3 separate regions of the Homo sapiens genome follow, and regions 1 and 2 are each linked to region 3. The links are contacts of gene promoters, found by promoter capture Hi-C in human tissues and cell types (Jung and others, 2019). All regions are on one chromosome and are shown on one strand. The core of a region is centred on a gene start or on the middle of the fragment in contact, and the rest is flanking DNA. Distances in the headings are between cores, read along the strand shown.

Evidence for each region. The method cuts DNA at HindIII sites, captures the fragments that hold promoters and counts their contacts. A contact is called where the count stands out against the background at its distance.
Region 1: a fragment that was not itself captured here is called in contact with the fragment with the promoter of TTLL11 in region 3 in 1 of the 25 tissues and cell types used here (bladder).
Region 2: a fragment that was not itself captured here is called in contact with the fragment with the promoter of TTLL11 in region 3 in 1 of the 25 tissues and cell types used here (bladder).

What each region holds. Positions count from the first base shown.
Region 1 is chr9:122,981,853-122,985,623 of GRCh38, reverse strand. RABGAP1 (RAB GTPase activating protein 1) reads right to left here. Exons shown (of 26, transcript NM_012197.4): 3 at 905-1,139. Among named protein-coding and RNA genes, the nearest start is that of RABGAP1, 43 kb to the right of the region's middle. The HindIII fragment of the contact is 4,839 bases long and covers 1-3,771 here.
Region 2 is chr9:122,888,916-122,892,459 of GRCh38, reverse strand. It overlaps RC3H2 (ring finger and CCCH-type domains 2), which reads left to right. Exons shown (of 21, transcript NM_001100588.3): 4 at 1,915-2,148. Among named protein-coding and RNA genes, the nearest start is that of SNORD90, 10 kb to the right of the region's middle. The HindIII fragment of the contact is 4,424 bases long and covers 1-3,544 here.
Region 3 is chr9:122,091,236-122,094,790 of GRCh38, reverse strand. TTLL11 (tubulin tyrosine ligase like 11) reads left to right here and starts at 1,483. Exons shown (of 9, transcript NM_001139442.2): 1 at 1,483-2,104. The coding sequence starts at 1,643. LOC124902263 (a long non-coding RNA gene) reads right to left here and starts at 659. Exons shown (of 2, transcript XR_007061757.1): 1 at 619-659. It overlaps LOC124902262 (a long non-coding RNA gene), which reads right to left. Exons shown (of 3, transcript XR_007061755.1): 3 at 3,512-3,555. RefSeq lists enhancers at 1,303-1,492, 1,242-1,955 and a silencer at 1,843-1,892. The HindIII fragment of the contact is 16,076 bases long and covers 1-3,555 here.

The sequences.
Region 1 (3,771 bases), core at 316-2,815, 890 kb before region 3:
TTTTTTTTTTTTGAGACGGAGTCTCGCTCTGTCGCCAGGCTGAAGTGCAGTGGAACAATCTCGGCTCACTGCAACCTCCACCTCCTGGTTTCAAGCAATTCCCGCTGCCTCAGCCTCCCAAGTAGCTGTGACTACAGGTGCGTGCCACCACGCCTGGCTAATTTTTTGTATTTTAATAGAGACAGGGTTTCACCATGTTGGCCAGATGGTCTCGATCTCCTGACCTTGTGATCCACCTGCCTCGGCCTCCCAATGTGCTGGGATCACAGGCGTGAGCCACTGCGCCCGGCCTAACTGTCATCTTTCTGAGCTGCACTGTTACAATTATTTCTCTAATTCATCATCTTAGCCACTTCATTATGTTCTCTTAATCCCTTTGGCTTTCCTTTCCCAATAACATCTATAGTTTTAGCACCTGCTTTTCCAAATGAGTCTTTTAAGTTGTCCTTCTCCTCCCATGCTATGTCTTTCTGTCCCATGTTCTAGTCTTCCTTTTTCAACTTGGCAACTGCTCCCATAGAGCTATATAGGTCTGGAGCAAACATCTGTTCACCCAGAATTATCCCTCCATTTCTCTAATATTGTACTCATATTCCTTCTTTATTTGAAAAATCTTTAAGCATTCCTGGGGGGAAAAAAAAAAAGACTCCCTCTGTGTCCTTTAGCCATGTTTTCTCTTTCCTTGGTACAAGTGAAATACATTTAAAAGGAAATCAGAATGGTATATATATTTTTACTCCTCTCACATCCCCTTAGATTTAGAATTCAGAGATTCTAGAGAATGTTTTTGCCTGTTTTTGTAGACAATGGTTTTGCCTGTTCTAAATAAAACCTAGTACAGGGTGGACACTCACATATTAAAAACAATAACCTTCAGTTACGCAAGCAATGCAGCAATCCTAACCTCCTTGTCCAGGTTTCACTGGTAGGCTCATCTCTGGTTTTTGGAGCCCTACTAATGGCACAGGGTTAATGGTGGATGAAGCGGAGAGCTGATTAGAAAGAGGCCCATCTCCTTCACCATCCAGTTGTGACCTTTTCACAAGCTCCTTTTCCCCTGGCTGGTCGTCCATTGGAGGATCCATCAGTACATCTGCTAGCTCTTTTTGCAGCTGCTGTTCACTTCCATTCCCTACAATCTAAGGGTCACAAATACATGCAATCAGCAAAGTGACAAAGATTGGCCAGTATTGATTAAAATGGGTTCACATTCTAAAGAAAATCATTAGCATTTCTTTTGATACAAAGATATCTTCTGAATGTTTTTTTTAAAAATAGAATAAATCAAGATCTGCAACAAATAAGGGTGCAGCTGCTCTCTCAATTACATAGTTTTTCATGAAAAAGTACATAGTGAACTTGAGACTAATACCCAGAAATATATGCGATAGCCTGCCAATGTTATTAAAGTCTTTTACTGTGTCCTAAACTAACAATAATTAAAGGATCTATAATTTTGTCTGATAAGAAATAACGCTTTTAAGAAGAACATCTTAGTGTCTCCTCTAGCCCTTAAGAAAAAGGGAAAAATGTGCTTGCTTCCAAAAGGTATCAACAGAAACATACATATTAGGCAATACATTTCCACAGGTATTTTACCACTCCAGTCATATGCAAGTCTCTTGTATTTCTGAGGAAGAGTTACATGATATGAACAGGTTCTGAAAGTTCTGAAACACTTGAGTAAAGCTGACATGAATGTACAAAATAGTCCTGAGAAATAAAAGCACTCTATTTCAATAATATCAAGTAATTCTATGGAGTCATGATGGGTTATTACTAGTTCCTCAACAAGGAAGCAAGTAAGTGCAAAATCCAGTGGAGACTGCCCAATGCCAAGGAAAACCACAAGTGACATAATGCAGTATTGTCACTAAATGCTTAAGAAATACTAAAAAAATTAACAAAAGAATTGAGTTAGAAAAACGAAGTCATGGGAAAAAAGAGGGAGCCCTGATTTAGGAGGCTTTCTGAAGACTAAAACCTAACAAAAAGTTAAATTGGGCAGGGCTAAGAGAATGAGGCCTACCCTAGCAAAATTAACACAGATGCTAGGAAGCAATATTCCAATAACAGAGGTAGGTACCTCTGGGGTACCAAGAAATCCAATTCAAGTACTTTTATTGATTCAGGCTTTTATAATTCTATAAACTTCAAGTCTCTTGTGCTGCAAATTATAATTGAGAAAAAGACAAGTCTTTTTTGCGGACATTTTCCCAAGGAAATTCCAACACTTCAACTACTTTTGCCTTAGAAATAAAGACCTCTTTCTTGGCTTCAATGACAATTTCTGTTTCTGTGAATTTCATTTTATGTTTGGAGTTACTGCTAATGGAATTACAAGTGGGCCGAGTAATTTTAACCCTTTGTTAAATCAGATTCTACACATACACAAGTGCAACTGAATTTCTTTTTTTAGAAGTTCTGCTTTAAAAAGTTTTTGTTTTTTTTTTTTTTGCTGGGCGCAGTGGCTCACGCCTATAATCCCAGCACTTTGGGAGGCTGAGGTGGACAGACTGCTTGACCTCAGGAGTTCGAGACCAGCCTGGGCAACACAGTGAAACCCCATCTCTACCAAAAACACAAAAATTAGCCGTGCATGGTAGCATGTGCCTGTGGTCCCAGCTACTGGGAGGCTGAGGTGGGAGGATCGCTGGAGCCCAGAAGTTGAGGCTGCAGTGACCCGAGATCACGCCACTGCACTCCAGCCTGGGTGATAGAGCAAAACCCTGTCTCAAAAACTTTTTTTTAAAAGTGACATCATATCACTATGTTGCCCAGCGTGGACTTGAACTCCTGGGCTCAAGTGATCCTCCCTCATCAGCCTCCCCAGGAACTGTGACTACAGGCAGTGCCACCACGCCCAGCTTAAAAAATTTTTAAAGCACCTAAAAATCCAACTAAAGCTTAGATTCAATTAGCCTCTTATCTTTTCAAAACTGGAGAAGAAATACTGTATCACCTGCAGTAAGCAAAAGACAGCCCAAGTGAACCTAAACTAATTTTTCCAAGGGTAGGGAGAAATAACATATAGGAATAGAGTTATACAGCTTCCCAAAAACAGATGAGAGAAGATATTAGATTCCCTGTTGAAGCAATTAGTAATTACAACTGGGAATGCAACTGGAATTGAAGGAAGACATATTACATGCTGTGAAGTACTGTTTTGATCTTTGGCACATAAGTAAACCTAAGTTTTCTGTTGGGATAGGCTGCCTACGTTGAAATATACTTACCAATCACAGAAATGTAGCTAACCCTAAAAGAAAACATGTTTATACCTTTGCCTTGTGTTTACACGTTTATCTTGCATTCTTCCCTACTTTATAAATTTTATAAACATAAGAACTGTCTTCAATGTCCTTAACTCTTCCTTAAAAACTAGGAAAAAGTAATGTACATACACAAAACAGTGGTAAGAGTGGTTTAAAAATAGTAACCTAACAAATGCCTTGAATAATCTTATCAAATACAATACTCAACAATTATCATGTTAGATCATTTGTGAACCTTCAATCCAATTCCAAATTACTACCTGTGACAGTATAGTACACATACTTTTTTTTTTTTTTTTTGAGACAGAGTCTTGCTCTGTTGCCCAGGCTGGAGTGCAGCAACACAATCTCGGCTTACTGCAACCTCTGCCTCCCAGGTTCAGGCAATTCTTCTGCCTCAACCTCCCAAGTAGCTGGGATCACAGGCGCGTGCCAACACACCCAGCTAGTTTTTGTATTTTTAGTAGAGACGGCGTTTTGCCATGTTGGCCAGGCT
Region 2 (3,544 bases), core at 429-2,928, 800 kb before region 3:
AGCCTGGGGCGACAGAGCAAGACTGTCTCAAAAAAAAAAGAATTCAAGCTGGGTGTGGTGGCTTCATGCCTGTAATCTGAGCACTTTATAAGGCTAAGGTGGGTAGATTTCTTGAGCCCAGGAGTTTGAGACCAGCCTGGGCAACAAGGCGAAAGCCCATCTCTACTAAAAATACAAAAAATTAGCTGGGCATGGTGACACACGCCTGTAGTCCCAGCTACTGAGGAGACCGGTGTAGGAGAATCACATGAGCCCAGGAAGTTGAGGCTGCAGTGAGCTGTGATCGTGCCACTGCACTCAACCTGGGCAATGGGAGTGAGACCTTGTCTCAAAAAAAAAAAAAAAATTTACCAGAGTCACTGCATCTTGAAATTTGTACATTATTTGAATTCACTGTGTAATAGTGCTGTAACAGAATATTAGTTTTGATAAGTCCTATTAAGACAGCTTCATGTATGCATGTATTCATTCAGTCATTCATTAAATTTTATTGAGCACTTAACAGTGATTAAGGTCACTGCCATCATGGAGCCCACAGTTTACTGGGGGAGATAGATGTACAAGTGTAATAAATTATTTTAAGTCTATGACAAAACTGAAATTTTATCACTGCATACTTAGCACATCATAGGTATAATAAACAATTGTTGAATGATTGAATATATTGAGTATTTTGTACCTGTTGAATGCTTTGCACTGTTGTGTATGTGGCCATAGTGATTTTACTGAGAAACTTATCCCCTGTATTCATTCATTCATTTATTGAACAGCTATCTAAAGAGCGTGGACTGAGAGTGTCAGGCATTCTTCTAGTGCTGGGATACATTAGTAAGCCAAATAATGTGTTTTAAAGGAGTAATGAGTAATCATGTGTGTTGAATGCTGTTGGAAGGTCAGATAAAATAAGGAACTAAGAATTAACTAATTTAACCAATTTAGCAAGTTTGGTCAAGTGATGTGGGAAAAATTTGATTGGGGTGGGTTTCAGAGATTGTGAAACAAGGAATTGGAAGTAGTGAACAGATCAATTGTAGTGATCTACAATTGGCTAAGTAGTTAAGGCACTAGACTAGGAAATAGCGAGTATAGACAACTCTAGAAAATTTGCTGCATAAGAGAAGAAAGAAATGGAACAGAGGCTGGGCACAGAGGCTCACGCCTGTAATTCCAGCACTTTGAGAGGCCGAGGCGGGCAGATCATTTGGGGTCAGGAATTTGAGACCACCCTGGCCAACATGGTAAAACCCCATCTCTACTAAAAATACAAAAAAAATTAGCCAGGTGTGGTGACACTCACCTGTAATCCCAGCTACTCGGGAGGCTGAGGCAGGAGAATTGCTTGAATCTGGGAGGCAGAGGTTGCAGTGAGCTGAGATTGTGCCACTGCACTCCAGCCTGGGCGACAGAGTGAGACTCTGTCTCCAAAAAAAAAAAAAAAAAAAAAAAATGGGGCAGATTTGGTAGGGGAAGCAGGATCAATGAAAATATTTGTATTTTAGATGGATGAAATAACAGCATACTTGTTCTTATTCTGTAATGATGGAAATGTTCAAGTAAAGAGGGAAAATTTGATAATGTGGGAGAGGGGAGAATTGCTGGAGCAATATTCTTACATAGGTACATAGGAGTAGAATCTAAGAGCTTACCATTAAGCAGTATTCTAAATGTCTTATATACAATTAAAAAATAGAGTCATTTTTACTTTTAGGTTAAACTGCTAAAGTAGCTAAAAATTAGGCTTCTTATTACTATAGAATAATAACAAACAGAGACAGAATACTGTTAGAAAAATGAAAGCACATTACAAGGGACTCATTAGGAATTGTGGCTTAATCGTTAAATGCAGATAATGAAAATTGACTTTTATTTTTTATTGAAAAAACTTTAGCTCCCTTTGTTTCCCTTTTCCTAAAGGTGTAGCTAGCTTGAACCAGAGTGCACTGAGCCGTCCAATGCAAAGGAAACTGGTGACACTTGTAAACTGTCAACTGGTGGAGGAAGAAGGTCGTGTAAGAGCCATGCGAGCAGCTCGTTCCCTTGGAGAAAGAACTGTAACAGAACTGATATTACAGCACCAGAACCCTCAGCAGTTGTCTGCCAATCTATGGGCCGCTGTCAGGGCTCGAGGATGCCAGTTTTTAGGGCCAGGTAAGATAGGTTACTATCTTACCTTTTTTATTAGCTATTGGGGCTTGAGGATGCCAATTTCTGGAGCTCGGTGAATCCTGAGACTCAACCCGTCTTTATATGTACAAATCTTGATATAATTAAAGATAAATTTGTTTTTGTTGTTGTTGTTATTGCTGTTTTGTTTTGTTTGAGACAGGGTCTCACTCTGTCACCCAGGCTGGAGTGCAGTGGCGCAGTCTTGGCTCACTGCAGCCTCGACATCCATGCTCAAGCAATTCTCCTGACTCAGCCCCCTAAGTAGCTGGGACTACAGGCACACGCCATCATACCCGGCTAATTTTTCTATTTTTTGTACAGACAGGGTTCCACCATGTTGGCCAGACTGGTCTGGAACTCCTGACCTCAGGTGATCTGCCTGCCCCAGCCTCCCAAAGTTCTAGGATTACAGGCGTGAGCCACTGCACCCAGCCAATATAAATCCGTTTTTATTAATCTTAATTTATATGATAGACAGTGCTTTTGTGTTTTAAAACAAAATTTCTCATTTAAGCTTCAATTGCCATCAAGATAGGCAATATAGCTACAGTTTTACAAATTAGAAAACCAAGTTAGAGGCCTAAGATTGAACACGTAATAAGCCAAAGAAAGGTAAGCTTTTTTTTTGGTCTGAAAAAAAATGTTTAAACTCTTGATCGTTTTTAGGGGATAATTATTTATGATTAGTGTTATCTATGTTCTGTCTTAAAAAATCTTCACCTATACCAAGGTAATGAAGTTCCCTCCTGTGTTTTCTTCTTGAAGGTTTATTGTTTGAACTTTGTGATTTAGAACTACAGTTCGGGTAGAATTTATTTTTGGAAAGGAAACTTTTAATAAGTGATGTTGGGACAACTAGATCAAAATGCGGAAAAAGCAAAATTAGATGCATTTCTTATTCTCTATAAACTATATAAATTACAAACGTCAGAAATCCTTATTAAAAATAAAAATATACTGGTAATAAAAACCAATAAAAGAATATATTTCTTTATAACCTGTGAGTAGGGAACATTTTTCTAACTTTAACTCAAAATCTAGAAACAATAAGGGAAGAAACTGATATTTGACTATATAATTTTGTGTTTAATTTACATCACAAAAAAATTATAAGCAAATGAAAAAGAAGACCAACTGGGGAAAATATTTATAAATTACGTAACAAACATACACAGAGGACTAATATAACTAATATATAAGGTATGTCTAAAAATTCAGAAGAAAAAGACCAACAACCAACTGAAAAATTGACAAAAGATGCAAGAAATACCATTTCTCACCTATCAGATTGGCAGAATCTTAAAGTCTGAAAATATATTCTGTTGGCAAGGGTGTGAGGTACTCTCATCCAGTAGTCATGGGCATGCAAAGTGGTACA
Region 3 (3,555 bases), core at 234-2,733:
GTGGTTCCCAGGGACTAGGAGAGAAGGGAATCCCGACTTATTGTTTCATAGACACAAAGTTTCAGTTTGGTAAGATAAAAGAGTTCCGGAGACCCATAGTGGTGCTGGTTGCACAACAATGTGAGTATACAGAATGCCACTGAATTGTACACTAAAAATGGTTAAAATGGCAAATTTTGTTATATTTTACCACAACAAAAAAAGTGATATAAGTAAAAGCAGTCAGGCTGGACGTGGTGGCTCACGCTTGTAATCTCAGCACTTTGGGAGGCTGAGGCGGGTGGATCATCTGAGGTCGGGAGTTAGAGACCAGCCTGGCCAAGATGGTGAAACCCCGTCTATACTAAAAATACAAAAAATTAGCCGGGCATGGTGGCCGGCTCCTGCAATCCCAGCTACTCACAAGGCTGAGGCAGGAGAATTGCTTGAAGCCGGGAGGCGGAGGCTGCAATGAGCCGAGATCACACCATTGCATCCCAGCCTGGGCGACAAGAGCGAAACTCTGTAACAACATCAACAACAACAACAAAACAAAAACAAAAACAAAAAAGAAAACAAGAGACGCGGTGGTTCTGCTTGTAATCCTAGTACTTTGGGAGGCCGAGGCTGGCAGATTACCTGAGGTCAGGAGTTTGAGAACAGCCTCGGCAACATGGCGAAACCACGTTTCTACGAGAAACACAAAACTTAGCCGGGAGTGGTGGTACATTCGTGTAGTCTCAGCTACTCGGGAGGTTGGGGTGGGAGGATCCCTTGAGCTCTGGAAGTTGAGGCTGCTGCAGTGAGCCGGGATCGCGCCACTGCACTCCAGCCTGGGCGACAGAGAGAGACCCTGTCTAAAAAAAAAAAAAAAAAAGAAAAAAAGAAAAGAAAAAGAAAAAATCGTTAATATCCTCAACTCGAGTGGGAATCTATAGGGGGCTTACCCATGCCCATGACTTCCCCATCCCATCGGGAGCTCCCTGAGAACAGGGAAAAGTGCCTCCCCTCTTATCTGGGGGCGCTCAAAGGACCAGCAGAGGGTTTCTTCAGCGGAACACTCTCTGCTCCCCTAGGGCCTGGGCTGCTCACATCCATCGCACTGAGGAGGGTCCCATCCATTGCACTGAGGAGGGTCCCATCCATTGCACTGAGGAGGGTCCCACTGGGGGGCTCCTCCTCCGTCCTATCGAGAGTTATCCCAGCGAGTGTTGGCGGGGACTGAGCCTCCTGCTTGAGGTAGTTGTTTTTACTCCCAGTCCCCAGGCTCACGAGCCCCACGCGCGCTCAATCTGCCCTCCCGCTTCTCCTCGCCACTCCGAGTTCTGCGCCCTCGAGATCCAGCGCATCCGCGGGGTGGGCGGGTCCTGGCGGCTCTTTGCCCTCTTCCAACATGGCCGCCGCTGCCTCTGTGACAGGCAGGGTCACGTGGGCAGCCTCGCCTATGAGGTCGCTGGGGCTCGGCCGGCGATTGTCCCTTCCCGGACCCCGTCTCGATGCGGTGACTGCCGCTGTCAACCCGAGCCTGAGCGATCATGGCAACGGGCTCGGGCGGGGAACGCGTGGCAGCGGCTGCAGCGGCGGCAGTTTGGTGGCGGACTGGGGCGGCGGAGCGGCGGCGGCGGCGGCGGTGGCACTGGCACTGGCCCCGGCCCTGAGCACCATGCGGCGGGGCAGCTCCGAGAGCGAGCTGGCGGCCCGGTGGGAGGCGGAGGCGGTGGCTGCGGCCAAAGCGGCGGCCAAAGCTGAGGCCGAGGCCACAGCGGAGACGGTGGCGGAACAGGTCCGCGTGGACGCGGGCGCGGCCGGGGAACCGGAGTGCAAGGCAGGGGAGGAGCAGCCCAAGGTCCTGGCCCCGGCCCCGGCGCAGCCCAGTGCGGCTGAGGAGGGGAACACCCAGGTCCTTCAGCGGCCGCCGCCCACGCTGCCCCCGTCCAAGCCGAAGCCGGTGCAGGGCCTCTGCCCGCACGGGAAGCCCCGGGACAAGGGCCGAAGCTGCAAGCGGAGCTCGGGCCACGGTTCCGGCGAGAACGGCTCCCAGCGGCCGGTCACCGTGGACAGCTCCAAGGCCAGGACCTCCCTGGATGCCCTGAAGATCAGCATCCGCCAGCTCAAGTGGAAGGAGGTGAGGCCCGGCCCGACCCGGCCGCGTGGGCACAGTGGGGTGGACAGGACGACCTCAGAGGTCTCGGCACGGCCCAGGTCAGGTCGGCGGGCGAGGGCTGAGCTCCTGCGGTGCACCACGCTCGGGCCTGCTTGTCAGCCGCAAAGTGCTCATCCTTCAAGGCCTACCCCCCAAAATCACTTCCTCCAAGAGGGCCCCCCAGACCCCTCCAGGTCAAGTTAGCCACTCACTCCTCTGCCTCCCTGCAGCTCTTTTTATGTCTCAGCCATCAGCATTTGCCTCTGCTTGTAGATATGTGTACGTCTGTCTCCTCCACCAGCTTGTAAGCCCCTGGGGCCCCGGACCCGCTCTCTCACTTCTTCATTGAAGTTATATTTGTTTAGCACTTGCTGTGTGACTCTTGGGCAGAGGAACACTTTTTATTTTGGAGGCAGACAGGCCTAGGGTCTCACTACACTTTGCTACTTAGCTGTGTGACCTTGAGTAAGTTGCTTCACCTCTTCAGCCTATTACCTTCTCTGTAAAGTGAGGCCAATTATACTTATCTCATCATCTTGTTAGCATTAGAAGACTCACTACTTAGTGTTTTATAGCACAAGTCTGCAATAAATGGTAACTTACGTTACCACCTTCTCCTTTCTCTCTTCTTCCACCATCATCACCATCACCACCACCAGCACCACCACTGTCCTCATGATCAGTGGTATAAAATCAGGCACTGTATTTTATATTCCAGGCTTGGCTTACGGCATGTGTCAGTAAGCAGTGAATGAAAGGGTGAATGAATACATGAGTTATCATCCCTGAGCCCATTTTAGACTGGCAGGGGATGGAATGTAGCACCAGTGACTCTAGAGGTGTCTGTTGCAATTGGCTACGTGGATAAAGCCATTTGACTTTATTTGCAGCATATAAGGTATTTAATGTGCTTTCAGGAGTGTCAGGAGTTTGATTAAGGATAGCTGAGTGTGGACACAGCCAGTGGTAACAGGGATCTGCTGCGGGTAACAGAGGACTCAGGTTCTTAGCCCTGTGCCTTGGCTATGGTAGATGCTCGGTAATGGTTTCATTAAGTTGGAACATACAGAGAGATGGCCACAGAAAGGACTGATGTGGTCAGAGGGTTGATGTCCCAATAGGAAAAAGTGCATTTGGTTTGGAGGGAAGTCAAGGATCAGGCAGAACCGACTTCCAGGTGGATAGGGTGTAGCCGTTGGGGAAGTTTGACTCCAAGTGTCTGGGCCCCCAGCCTTGGGGCTTGGGATTCAGAGGGGAACTTTCATGCTGGGGAAACTTGGGGAAAACAAAGGCAGGCTCTCAGTTCTAAAGTATCTGGGTTTCTAGGCAGGGCCCCAGGTCCAGGCCAGAGATATGAGGGCTAGAAAAGGTACAACTGGACAACTTGTCAGTGCCGTGGTCTTAATGAAGGGAGAATCCAGCAAATAAAACCA